2 separate regions of the Homo sapiens genome follow, and region 2 is linked to region 1. Evidence: promoter capture Hi-C in 16 types of primary human blood cells and fetal thymus (Javierre and others, 2016). All regions are on one chromosome and are shown on one strand. Each heading gives the region's core, a stretch centred on a gene start or on the middle of the fragment in contact. The rest is flanking DNA. Distances are from core to core; before and after follow the strand shown. Region 1 holds the start of CHD4 (chromodomain helicase DNA binding protein 4). Region 2 overlaps IFFO1 (intermediate filament family orphan 1).

Region 1 (6,727 bases), core at 1,032-3,531:
AGTGAAGAATTCCAACTTAAAAAGTGCCAAATGTGAAAGCATCTCTCCCAGACCACCTCAACTTCCACTGAAGCTAAGAAGAGAGAAGGCAGAAGTGAATGATGCTGGATGAGAAACAAAAACAGGATCAGCAGGCTCCAGAATGAGAAGAAAACTAGAAGCAGAAGGAATGAAGAAATGACATGTAGAAAAAAAAATTAAACTAGAAAACATGAAGGTCAAGGAGATGAGTAGGTGACACAGCTAGGGGCTCTGAAAAAGGACACAGAAGAGAAAGACATCTGCTTAGGGGCATGACATCAACCATCATTTGAGGATAGACAACAGTTCCCCCAATCAGACAGGGTGGTTACAACCATACGGGTTTGGCCAGTTCATGAAGCCACCCCAAAACACAGATAGCGTAACCCCTAGCACACCTACACAGACACTTCACACTGCCAGCCTAAACCGCAGGCTACCTCATAGAGACAGAAGCCACTAGGAAAAAAGCCAAAACTATGTCCACTCACCAGGAGGAGGAGTGCCCTCCCTTCTTTTGCCCCTCTTCACTAGGCTATTACATCCTCCCCGAGCCCCCATCACTTCCCCACTCAAAACATTCCAGCAATCTGCCTGGCTGCTTTAAGCACTCCAGATCCTGCTGAGGAGCGCGATTCAAACTTCACACAGTTCAGACAGCACAGAAAACCGGTAACCGATCAGAAGCTAAAAATAATCAGATAGAGTGTAACCAGCACTCCCTCTTTCCTTTCCACAGCAGCAACCACAGGATCCTACTAGCACAGATGCCCGGCTGGTCTTTCAAACAGAATCCTCAACGCCCCCCTCCACCACCACCACCACAAGCCTCCAGGGGTCCCAGCTACCTGCATTCCTCCGAGGACCCACATACCAGGTAATGCCTGCCAGCCCAGAGAGCTCCCTCAACTGGGAACTGCAGAGCATTCCTCAAGACAGAGTGCAGCAAGCTGGCATCTCCGTGCCCAGGAGGCACATGGCTTCCACCCCCCTCACACCAGAGCTCCGCAGAAGGGAACCACTCCCTTCGGATACCCTCCACCTCCGGCTCTGCACAGAGACAGCGGAGCAACACAGCCCTGCCTCACCAGAGGAGTCACTCGGGAGAGCCCCAGATGTCTCCTTCCCGCCATGGGCCCTTGGGGAAGATGTTACCTGGGTGGGGTGGGGGCAGGCTGTTGTTCAAAAGTGCATCCATATCCTCCTCCTCACTGCCCGCCGAGCAGGGGGACGGGGAGCCCAGGCCCGACGCCATCCCCTTCCGCTCCCGGCCAGGGAATTGGCCCAGCTGCTCCTGCCGGCGGCCTGAGGACCTCTACACTGGCCCGAGTCACTGTGCGGGGGAGGGGGGAGAAACACAGAACAGTCAGTGACGCGCACTGTCCCCCTCCCCCACACCCACCCGCTCTTTCCGCCCCCCACCCCAGCCACCCTAGCAGGGCACCCGAACCGCTCAGGCTGAACTTAGTTCCACACTCCTCGGGGGCAGCCCGGAAGCCGGCTCCCCGGCAGGCGCCCCCACGGAGCGAGGGAGCGACGCCTCCGAGGGCAGGCTGGTGCAAGCGCGGGGAGGGGAGACGCGGGGCTGGACCGAGCGGGGTGTGACGGGGGAGGGGGTCCGAGTGGCAGCGGCGCGGGGGGGCCAGGGGAGGCCGCAGGCGGCGAGGCGCTCGGGGACACAAGGTCACTTGGGGGTGGGGGGGCGCCTCCCTGCGCCCGGGGAGGGGCCAGTCCCCAGACAGGGCAGCTCTCCAAAGGCTGTCCTCTGGGACAACTCAGGTTCTCCTCAAGAGCTGCGGGGACGAGGGGGCGTGGAGGCTCGGGCGCTGCGGGGGGCCGGAGGCAGGGACGCGGGGGGCGAAAGCGTCCCACCGGGAAGGGGGCCGGGCCACGTGTCCCGGGGGGCAAGTGATCAAAGGGCGAGGGGGTGGGCGCCGGGCATTGTGGGAGACCAAGCCGGAGGCGGGGGGTCGCGGGGAGCAAGACTCCGGCAGGGTTAGGGCGGGGGCTGGGGAGGAGGCCGGGCGCCCTGCAGGGCCAGGAAAGGAAGGGTCGGCTCCTCTGGGCAAGGGGCGGTCCGCGGGTCCGGAGACGCCTGAGGAAGGGGCGGGTGACGGGATGACCCTCGGGGCTGGTAGGGCCGTGAGGGGCGTCTCTTTGGGAACCCCGCGCTCTCCTCACCCCGGAGCCGCCGCAGGTCGCGCTGGGTCCGGCTCGGTGTCACTCCCGCTCCGGCTCCTCCTCGCCGCGGCCGAAGGGGGGAAAATGGCTCCGGCTCCAGCGTCGCCTCTTAAAGGGCCTGAAACACCGGCCGGGAAATCCCACCGCACAGGCCCCGCCCCCCCACGGACAGCCCATAATAACCTCAACCAACTCCAACCCCCCCCTTCCACTACCGCCACCCTCCTCCCCAGGTCTCCCGGGCAACCCCCGCCCCCTCGTCGCTCAGGCAACCACTGGCCACGCCCCCTTCGCAGCGGGCGCGCGCGCGTCACCTGGGCAACCGCCCACCTCCTGGCCATCCCATAATACACACGGACACCCCCCCCCCCAACACACACACACACACACACACACACACACACACACACACACACAACACACACACACCCTGCCCCCCCACATTTCATACACATATGCCAGAGACTGCTGACATCTCAAAATATTGCAGACCTTTTGCAACTAACCCTCTTAGACATCCCATAATAGACATCCTTTGCCAACTTCTTCTTCACTCTTGGACCTAATGCTAACATCCCATAATAATTCATCACCCCTCCCTCCCCATGGCCATCCCATAATAAGCACCCCTCGCAGCACTTATGCCTCATATCCCATAATATTCAGCCCCATCCCCCACAGACATCCCATAATAACCATCCTTCATCCACCCCCAGTTTGATATCCCATAATAGTCAGAAACTCACCCCCCCCCATACTACAACAACGGACACTCGGCCTCCTCCCACACACATCCCGTAATAATCAGTCTCCCACTTTCTATACTGACATCCCATAATAACTAACCCCCTAGAGCTGCCCTCAGTCCCTGCAGGCCAGGGTCTAGAGGCTCACATCACCCCCAGCCTTCCCTCTTCTAGCTCCACAGCCTATAGTAAGTACCCCTCCTCTATCAAAAAGATAACCCATAATGATCAACAGCCCTACTGTCGCCCCACAGATGGACATCTAATCTCTTTTCCTCTAACACTGGAAAGCTATCCCATAATAATTTTACTCTCCTACCCACATCCTGACATCCCATAATAATTGCAAGGAGCCCGTGGTCAACCAAACATACCATAATACTCCCAACACAACCCAGTGTCACATCCCATAATGCTTCATCTCCACTCTACCACCCCTATACCCTTCGAGCCAGGCATCCCATAATATTCATATTCTTCCCACCCCCATCTCCAGGCGCTGTCAGTCTATTCTAACACCCAGAGCAGGGAGGGCCAGGCAGGCTACCCACGCTTCCTTGTCCCCGCCCCCACTTGCACACACCTTAATCCCTTTCTGGGCCAAAGTAGTATCCTGGCAAAAAGCCTCCTGATGTCTGGGACCCCAGCTTCCCTCATACCATCATTTCCAGACACTCGGGGGCTGGGAGCCCACCTAGGGCCCCACCCAGTCCCACCAAAATCTAGGTATTTTCCAGATGCTTACCTCCAGCTCCTAAGTTTTGAGGAACACCAACCAACCAAAATACCAAGCTGACAGATGAAACATTTACATGAAGTCTAATTCACCCTACAGCATCCCATAATAATTACCAACTCCCATCCAAAGACTATCTCTCAACATTCTAGCAATCCTCCCCCTCACCACATCCCCAGGTCAGGGATCTTTCACCAACACCCCCAGGCCATTCCTGGGGATGGACATCCCATCACGATGTGAACTCAGGTTCCTGCTCTATACACACCAAGAGTGAAGGCCTGCCCTCCCGCTACTCACCACTACTCATGTTCATTCAACCTGTGTTGACAGAGTACCTAGCAAGGCCGAGCTCCGCACCATGGAGAATCAAGGAAGACCAGGGGGCCTCCCTTCAAAAAGCATAAGCAACCAAGCAAACTATGATACACGACAGAATGGTGCCAAGGGAGAACTGCTGAGCACTGTTTCCCAATTTCCTGTTACAGAAAATAAAATCCCACTGGTTCCAAGAGAGAACATATCCCAATAAGATTTATCGTGGTCCTTCTAGAGGCTGGAAGATGATACTTAAAGGATTTATGGGTATAGACCATAGTCAACATGATCTCCTATCTGTTCCCTACTTACTAGGGGATTTTTCTTGGAAAGCAATGTTCATCCATCCAGCATTCCTAATACTGAAATCCTATAATATGTTCATGTCCTTCCTTCTTAAGAGACTCCACAATATACCAGCATTGTTTCCCTCATTCTTGAACACCAAATCCTGCTTATCCTCAATGTCCCATATTTTTCAGGCACTTTCCCATTTTATATCCTGAAGTCTCATAGTATCTCCAATGGCCTCCATCCTCATCTTGTTGGGGCCACATTCTCCACCTCAAAAAAAAAAAAATCTTTAGTTGTATAATGTTCCCCATCTTCCCCTGCCTGTATAGAAGTCAATATTCCAGCGGGGCATGGTGGCTCATGCCTGTAATCCCAGCACTTTGGGAGGCCAAGGCAGGTGGATCACAAGGTCAGGAGTTCAAGACCAGCCTGGCCAAAATGGTGAAACCCCGTCTCTACTAAACATACAAAAATTAGCCTGACATGGTGGCACGTGCCTGTAATCCTAGCTACTCAAGGGCTGAGGCAGGAGAATTGCTTGAACCCAGGAGGTAGAGGTTGCAGGGAGCTGAGATTGCACCACTGCACTACAGCCTGGGCAACAGAGCAAGACTCTGCCTCAGAAAAAAAAAAAAAAAAAAAGAAGTCAGCAGTCCAGGAAACCTTCTACATTGAATTATGCCCCAAGGTAGCCCTCCAGCGTATACCATCTCCTTCCCTTATTATGCATACCCTCCAGCCACCCTATGGACCCAATCCTAGAAGCTGAAATAACCGAATTTTTTTTGTTTTGTTTTTTGTTTTTTTGAGAGACAGGGTCTCAGTGGCGCAATCACAGCTCACTGCAACCTCAACCTCCTGGGCTCAAGTGATCATCCCACCTCAGCCTCCCACCTGTAGCTGGAACCACGGGCATACACCACCACACCCAGCTAATTTTTAAATTTATTGTAGAGACGGGGTTTCACTATGTTGCCAGGCTGATCTTGAACTTCTGGACTCAAGTGATCTTCCCACCTCAGGAAAGAGCCTAATTTTTTTTTTTTTTTTTTTTTTTGAGACGGAGTTTCGCTCTTGTTGCCCAGGCTGGAGTGCCATGGCGCGATCTCGGCTCACTGCAACCTCAGCCTCCCAGGTTCAAGTGATTTTCCTGCCTCAGCCTCCCGGGTAGCTGGGATTACAGGCATGTGCCACCATGCCCGGCTAATTTTGTATTTTTAGTAGAGACGGGGTTTCTCCATATTGGTCAGGCTGGTCTCGAACGCCCAAACTCAGGTGATCCGCCCGCCTCGGCCTCCCAAAGTGCTGGGATTACAGGCGTGAGCCACTGCGCCTGGCCAGGAAAGAGCCCAATCTTAAAACCCTTTGGCCCTCAGAAAACCTAACCCATCAGCCTGTCACTTTTCCCTTTTCCTGACTCCCAGAGATTCAGGACCTGAGTGAAAACCAATGTCCCAGCACCACTGCCTTGCTGCCCTAACCCCAGGCCAAGGATAATGTCTCCCTCTGCTCATGTACCTTTTTTGCATGGGTCCAAGACCTATGGAAGTGGGACGAGTTGAAAAGAAACTTGGACTTCCTTGTAGAAAGGGCCCTTTACTAACCAGTAGTGAGTGGGATGAACCTCATGCCATCTCTGCATTACCCTTCTCATCTCATTTTCCTAGAGGAAGGCCTGGCCAGATGGCTCTCCCCTTCTCTAGGATCCAAGGGACTGGAGAACTGGTACAAAGAAATGAGTTCAGGGAAGGCAAGAGCTTGCCTCAGGGAATTACAATCCCCCTGCTCCTGAGCAGAGCACCAGGGATGCAGACAAGTCTTCCGCTAGCTCCTGGCTGACTCTGTAGACCCACTAGCATTCCACATTTAACTCTCCTCATCTTAGGACTGGAGTTTTTGGCATCAAAGACATCAGGTCCTGTCAAAAGCTCCCTGTCACCTTTGAAGTAGGTGTTTTCTTTTTCCAACCTTCCCTTCAGCTCCCTGGCCCACCCTCTTGCTGCACTCATTGTGGCAAGCGGGCCATTCTCCCCCGTTCTGCAAGGCTTCCAGTTTCCCTCGTTAAATGCTCTCGACATCAAGACTGGGCCCCATTTACTTACCCAAGCCCTCTCCCATACTTACTCTGAGTACTAAGAATGAAACTTGTGTTCCACAATGGGGGGTGAGGAGGCAGCTCTTTTCAGATACCATGATGTGGGGACACCTCCTTTCAGGGAAGTTTCTCCTTCCTACAGAGGGCTGCCAGATGCCTATTGTGCGCTCTTCTACCCTCATTTCTCCAGGGGATCCAGCCTGTCTCTGGGCCTCAAATTCCCTTCTGCAATATCTCCATCTGCCCATACCCATACTCTCATTTCCACAGTGATCTGTCCATATAAACCAGTAAGAGAGCGTTTGGGTAGTCACAGCCTCCTGCCTGTGACTAAAA
Region 2 (6,070 bases), core at 2,842-5,341, 58 kb before region 1:
AATAAATGAAAAGAATAAAGTCACTCTCTCCTTATCCACTGGTTTCACTTTCCACGGCTTCAGGTACCCAAGGTGAACCTTGATCTGAAAATATTAAATGAAATATTCCAGAAATAAACAATTCCTAAGTTTTAAATTGCACGCTGTTCTGAGTGGCCTGATAAAATCTCACTCTCTCTGCCGGGCGCGGTGGCTCACGCCTATAATCCCAGCACTTTGGGAGGCCGAGGTGGGCGGATCATGAGGTCAGGAGATCGAGATCATCCTGGCTAACACGGTGAAACCCCATCTCTACTAAAAAATACAAAAGAAATTAGCCGGGCGTGATGGCGGGCGCCTGTAGTCCCAGCTACTCAGGAGGCTGAGGCAGGAGAATGGCGTGAACCCAGGAGGTGGAGCTTGCAGTGAGCCGAGTTCAAGCCACTGCACTCCAGCCTGGGTGACACAGCGAGACTCCGTCTCGGAAAAAAAAAAAAAAACCTCACTCTATCCAGACCAGGACATGAACCCTCCCTCTGTCCCAAGGATCCACACTGTCTATACTGCCTGCCCATTAGTTACTTAGGAGCCATCTCAGTGATGAGATTGACTGTCGTGGTATGGCAGTGCCCGTGTTCAAGGAACCCTTATTTTTACTTCATAATGGCCCCAAAGCACAAGAGTAGTGATGCTGGCAATTTGGATATGTGAAAGAGAAGCCAAAATATGCTCCCTTTAAGTGAAAAGGTAAAAGTTTTCAACTTAATAAGAAAAAGAATCCGATGCTGAGGTTGGTAAGCTCTACAGTAAGAATGAATCTTCTATCCGTGAAATTGTAAAGAAGGAAAAAGAAATTTGTGCCAGTTTTGCTGTCACACCTCGAACTGCAAAAGGTACCGCCACAGCGCACGCTAAGTGCTTAGTTAAGATAGAAAAGGCATTGAATGTGTGGGTGGGAGACATGAACAGAAACACGTTCCAGTTGACAGCAACTGGACCCAAGCTATCAGGAGGTCAGTGCTATCTTTGGTTTCAGGCATCCACTGTGGGTCTTGGAACACATGCCCTGAAGATAAGGGGGGACTACGTATGAATCTCCCATGTGGGCCTGAAGAGAGGCTGAGACGCAGAGAAGGCTCCATGCCTCTCCCAAAGTCAGAGCGTCGGGAAAGGACCACCTCACCAGGCCAGGAGAGCTCACGGGGGTCCCGTCCATCCCTCCTCCCACAGCAACAGCAACCTCCATTCTGTGGTTCCACAAATCCTTCTTCCTTTGTTTGTATTTTTGAGACGGAGTCTTGCTCTGTCGCCCAGGCTGGAGTGCAGTGGTGCGATCTCGGCTCACTGCAAGCTCCGCCTCCCGGGTTCACGCCATTCTCCTGCCTCAGCCTCCCGAGTAGCTGGGACTACAGGTGCCTGCCACCACGGCCAGCTAATTTTTTTTTTTTGTATTTTTCGTAGAGACGGGGTTTCACCGTGTTAGCCAGGATGGTCTCGATCTCCTGACCTCGTGATCTTCCCGCCTCGGCCTCCCAAAGTGCTGGGATTACAGGCGTGAGCCACCGCGCCCGGCCTCCACAAATCCTTCTTGCAGCTCCTAAAGCCTAGAGTTTGAGCTAAAGCACCAGCTCCACTTGCCTCTAGGTACCTCTAGAAGGTACTTCAAGGCTTGGGAAAAAGCATGGAGATTTCTCTGTTATCTCAAAGGCTGAGTGGAAGAAACAGGAAAGTCCCAGTCCATCTCTGAGTGCCATGGCACTGATAGTGTTAATAATAATAAAACAGTCCCCACTATGCTACACTCGCTATGAGCCAGACACTGCCCTAAGCTCTATATATGCATTATTTCATCTGATCTTCTAAACAACCCTATAGGTGAGGTATTATTAAATTCCTCATTTTACAAATAAAAAGGCCCGGCACAGTGGCTCATGCCTGTAATCCCAACACTTTGTGGGGCCGAGTTAGGAGGACTGCTTGAATCCAGAAGTTTGAGGGCAGCCTGGAAAACATAGTGACACCCTGTTCTCTGTAAAAAAAATCAAAAAATTAGCCGGGCGTGGTAGCACACGCCTGTGGTCCCAGCTACTTGGGAGGCTGAGGTAGGAGGATTGCTTGGATCCAGAAGATCACGGCTGCAGTGGGCCTGGAGTGACAGAGCAAGACCCTGTCTCAAAAAAAGAAAGAAAGAAAGAAAGAAAGAAAAAGAAACAGGTGTAGGGCTGGACACATGGCTCATGTCTCTAATTCTAGTACTTTGGGAGGCCGAGGCAGGAGGATCACTTAAGCCCAAGAGTTTAAGACCTGCCTGGGAAACACAGGGAGACACCATCTCTACAAAAAAATACAAATAAAAATTAGCTGGGTATGGTGGCACACACCTGTGGGCCCAGCTACTCAGAAGGCTGGGGTGGGAGGATCACTCCAGCCTAGGCAACAGAGTGAAACAGAGTGAGACCTTGTCTCAAAAAAGAAAGGACAGAAAGACAAGGGAGAGAGGGAGGGAGGGATAGAGGGGGAGGGGAAGAGAGAGAGAGAGAGAAAGGAAGGAAGGAAGGAAGGAAAGAAAGGAAAGGAAAGGAAAGGAAAGGAGGGGCTCAGAGGGAACAAGTAACTTATTACAAGTTCAGGGTGGTTGTAAGTAACAGAGCTGAGATTTGAACCGATATCTGTCTGTTTCCAGAGCCTGAGGTCTTCAGAGCCCACCAGGAGGACTATAGCTGAGAGATCACTCCTCCTCCCAAGACCTTGGTCTCTAGGGTCCTGCAGCAGGGATGAGGCCACTGCGCCTGCAGCCCCACTCAAAACCCTCTGGGACACCACGCCCCTGGCTTCCGCTCCTGCCCTTACCTCTATCTGGTCAATGGTCTCCTGATACTCCTTCTCCCGGGTTTTGAACAGGGACTCCGTATCTTTAATCACCTTCTCCAGGCTATCTTCCTGCTGCTGGAGTAGAAAGGGAAGCGGGGGAGGCCAGCCAAGGAGGGATGGGATGGGACGCATTCCAAAGGGCCAAGTCAGGGAGAGAGAGAGAGAGGAAGTCTGGTTAAAGAAACTGGAGAAAGAAAAGCAAAAGGATAAAGGAAGAGGGGAGACGCAGGTAGAGGATGACAGCCACATGGGGGGACAGAGCAAGGAGAGGAGCGGGGGAGTGGGCTTCAGGCTGGAGAGGCAGAGCCAGAGGGCCCTGAGGCCGGGAGCAGAGGTTACCTCTCCCTGGGCCTCTGCAGCTGCCATGGCATAGCCTGAGAAATCCTCCCAAAGCAGCAGGGTCTCCTCAGTCTCCTCCCAAGTCAGGCTGTCACAGTCGTCCTCAAAATCATACTCCCTCCTAGAGACAGGGAACCCGGGTGTCAGGGCGGGCGGGGCCTCGTCCTGGCGGGGGACTGGGGAGCTCCGGCCTCCTGGGCTGCTGTGGCGTCGGTGCTGCGGGAGCACGGCCTGCGGACTCACAGCTGGTTGAGCATGCGCTGCATCTCCTCGTTGATGCTGAGGGCTGTGCTCTCCTCCTCATCCCCATCGGGCTGGCGGGGCCCCTCACTCTCCGACAGGGAGGTGTCCTCCTCGACGGCAGCCTTGCGCTCCCGCTTCCGCCCCCCCATGGATGGGACCTTAATGGGAGACAAGTGCAGAGACTACAGAGACGAGGCCGGGTGCATGAGGAGAAAGGGCGGGAGCGGGAGGCCGGGCAGAGAGGGTGGGAATGGGGGAGAAGCATGAACCAGTAGGAAGGGGGGGCAGACAGAGAGAAAAGTCACAGTTACAATGACAGGAACAGAAACACGGACAGTCACCAAGGGCCAGACACACAGCGGGGGTCAGGGCTGCAAACCGAGAAGGCAGAACAAGAAGAAATCGAGAAGAAGAGCAGTCAGACAAGGAAGGAAGGGCTCGCTGGGGCTGCAGTCAGATGTGCATGATGGCTCAAGAGGAAATTTTTTTCTAAAAAAAGTCTTTTTGATTAAATGACTCAACTAAAAAAAAAAAAGCTTTAGGACGCAAGGAGGATGAGTGTGCAATGTGTACAAAAGAGAACCTGAATCACATCCAGATCTGGAAAGCCGGGGGAGAAGGGAGAGAAAGAAATGCAGTCAAGAGAACAAGAGATAGAGAGAAAAAGGGGGAAGAGCAAGGAAAAGGGAAAGGGCAGAAAAAAATCCGTGCTCAAGAGCCCAGCGGGCCCAAACTGAGGGCCAGGAGGCCTAGGCAGCTTAGAAACTGGGACTGGGACATTAATAAGCTTGCGTGAGATCAAACTAACCAGCTTCTTCTGTGGAGGAAGCAAGAGAGAAGATGAGAGGAAGAGAGGAGAGGAAGCAGACAGAGGAGAGAGAGGGGGAAGGGAGAGACGGCGTTAGAGACAGCTTCCACGATGCCCCTCCTGATGCTGCTCCTTACCCCCCAGTCTAGCCCCGTGAGGGCCCCAGTTGCCAGGTAAGGCTCCCCAAGCAGGAGGCAGGGCCTGCGTTCCAGGCCAGCCGCCACGGAAGCATCCACCTGCCCCACCCACCCCTGAGAGCAGAGGGCAGCTCCGTCCTCACCTGGAACATCTGGATCATGTCCTCGCAGTTGCGCTGCTGAGCCACATCGCAGAGCTTGGCGGTGATGTCGATGCGGCGGCAGATGTCCATATCCACCTTCATGGCTTTCTCCTGGATCTTGGTGTCCAGCTCCGACAGGTTCTGTCCAGGGAGCCCAGGGAACAGTGAGGAGGCGCCCAGTTCTCCAGACAAGGACGAATTAGGCCTGGCAAGGTCCTCATCCTTCCCACCACATTGCACCGGTGCCTCTTCTGTGGAGTCTCCCTGAGCTGACTGCACCCCTCTTCCTGGGTAGCGGTGGCCTCCCCACAGCACTGTGTGAATATGCTGGGCATGGGGCGGCTCGGGCCACTGCTCCCTGGCCAAACGGAAGCCCTGGAGGGCATGGCCAGTGCCTGGGACATGCAGGGGGCTCACTGGAACGACTAGCGGTCCTCATCCTCCTAGAACTTACATTCCCAGAGAGAAAGAGACTCCTGGGAATTATAAGAGTGGAGAAAGGACTATAATAATCGCAACAGCTAACACTCTTCCAGCTAACACTGCATGCTGGGCACTGTCCCGAGTACATGACCACCCTCACAATACTCCTGCAGAGCGCACGCGTTTATTTCCCCACGCCAAAGGTGAGGCCTCAGAGGCTGAGGAATCGGCCCAGCGCCCCGGCGCCAGCTGCAGAGCCTCCACCCCAGAAGCTGCTCACTAACTGCTCTGCAACCCCAGGCCCTCAGAAGCTGCGCCACCTCTGTGACGCAACACCGAGACTTTTGTTGCTTGTCTTTCTCTGGAGTTAGGGGTGGCTAGGGGAAAAAGGGAAGGAAAGCAAAGAGAAGGGGAGGAGCCGTGGACGGGAGGCCAACAGGCCAACACTAGAAGGGCCTACTCTTCTGGCCTCAGAAGCCTCACTTCGACCCTCGGGAAGCCTGGGGCTGCACTCACGTTACTCATGAGCCCCTTGAAGACCACCAGCTCAGCCTTCAACTGTTCCACCTTCAGTGCCAGCTCCTCCTGGCAGGCATCAGCCTCCTGGGCTTCCTGCAGTTGGGAGAAACCCTGATGTTGGTGGCACTGCCGAGGTGGGAGGAAGATAAAGATGCCAAGGAGGGACAGGGAGACGGCAGCAGGGTCATGGGCAGACAGGGGTACCCAGGGAAGCACCAGCAGCAAGTGGGGCGCCACCCTCACCTCCTGGAGCTCATTTACACGGTCTTGCAGCTGGATCCGCACCGTGTACTCCTCTTCCCACCTGACAGACATGGGAAGGGCGGAGAGAGCTTAGGTACAGAGTCCTTCCCTGCCCCCATGGCTCCCTGTCCCCACCTCTCTGGCTCAGGCCTCAGACCCCAGTTCTGGTTCCCTGGATGGGGAGGAGCAGGGCACAGGAATGCCTGGCCAGCCAGCTGGTGACCAACTGCAGCTGTCACGCGGCTCTGTGCTTCCTGATGGGCGTCGAGCTCGCCAGCTGCCTTCCCGGAACCTCCGGGCTGTGCACCAGGAGCTCTGTTTGGGCAAGTGCTGAGGCTCCGGTCCTCCGTGATGCCCATCCCTGC

The links. The method cuts DNA at HindIII sites, captures the fragments that hold promoters and counts their contacts. A CHiCAGO score of 5 or more calls a contact.
Region 2: a contact is called between a fragment that was not itself captured here and the fragment with the promoter of CHD4 in region 1, in 3 of 17 cell types (activated CD4 T cells, naive CD4 T cells and total CD8 T cells). The highest score is 6.6, in activated CD4 T cells.

The regions. Positions count from the first base shown.
Region 1 is chr12:6,605,098-6,611,824 of GRCh38, forward strand. CHD4 (chromodomain helicase DNA binding protein 4) reads right to left here and starts at 2,282. Exons shown (of 40, transcript NM_001273.5): 1 at 2,203-2,282; 2 at 1,177-1,354. The coding sequence starts at 1,276. It overlaps LOC124902867 (a long non-coding RNA gene), which reads left to right and starts at 789. Exons shown (of 2, transcript XR_007063193.1): 1 at 789-898; 2 at 4,018-4,213. RefSeq lists enhancers at 853-1,012, 2,753-2,902 and silencers at 1,363-1,412, 1,593-1,652, 2,063-2,162. The HindIII fragment of the contact is 30,599 bases long and covers 1-6,727 here.
Region 2 is chr12:6,545,236-6,551,305 of GRCh38, forward strand. It overlaps IFFO1 (intermediate filament family orphan 1), which reads right to left. Exons shown (of 10, transcript NM_001193457.2): 2 at 5,706-5,766; 3 at 5,460-5,555; 4 at 4,521-4,661; 5 at 4,241-4,249; 6 at 3,433-3,614; 7 at 3,190-3,310; 8 at 2,830-2,925. Among named protein-coding and RNA genes, the nearest start is that of IFFO1, 7.8 kb to the right of the region's middle. RefSeq lists enhancers at 4,181-4,681, 4,682-5,182, 5,862-6,070. The HindIII fragment of the contact is 251 bases long and covers 3,967-4,217 here.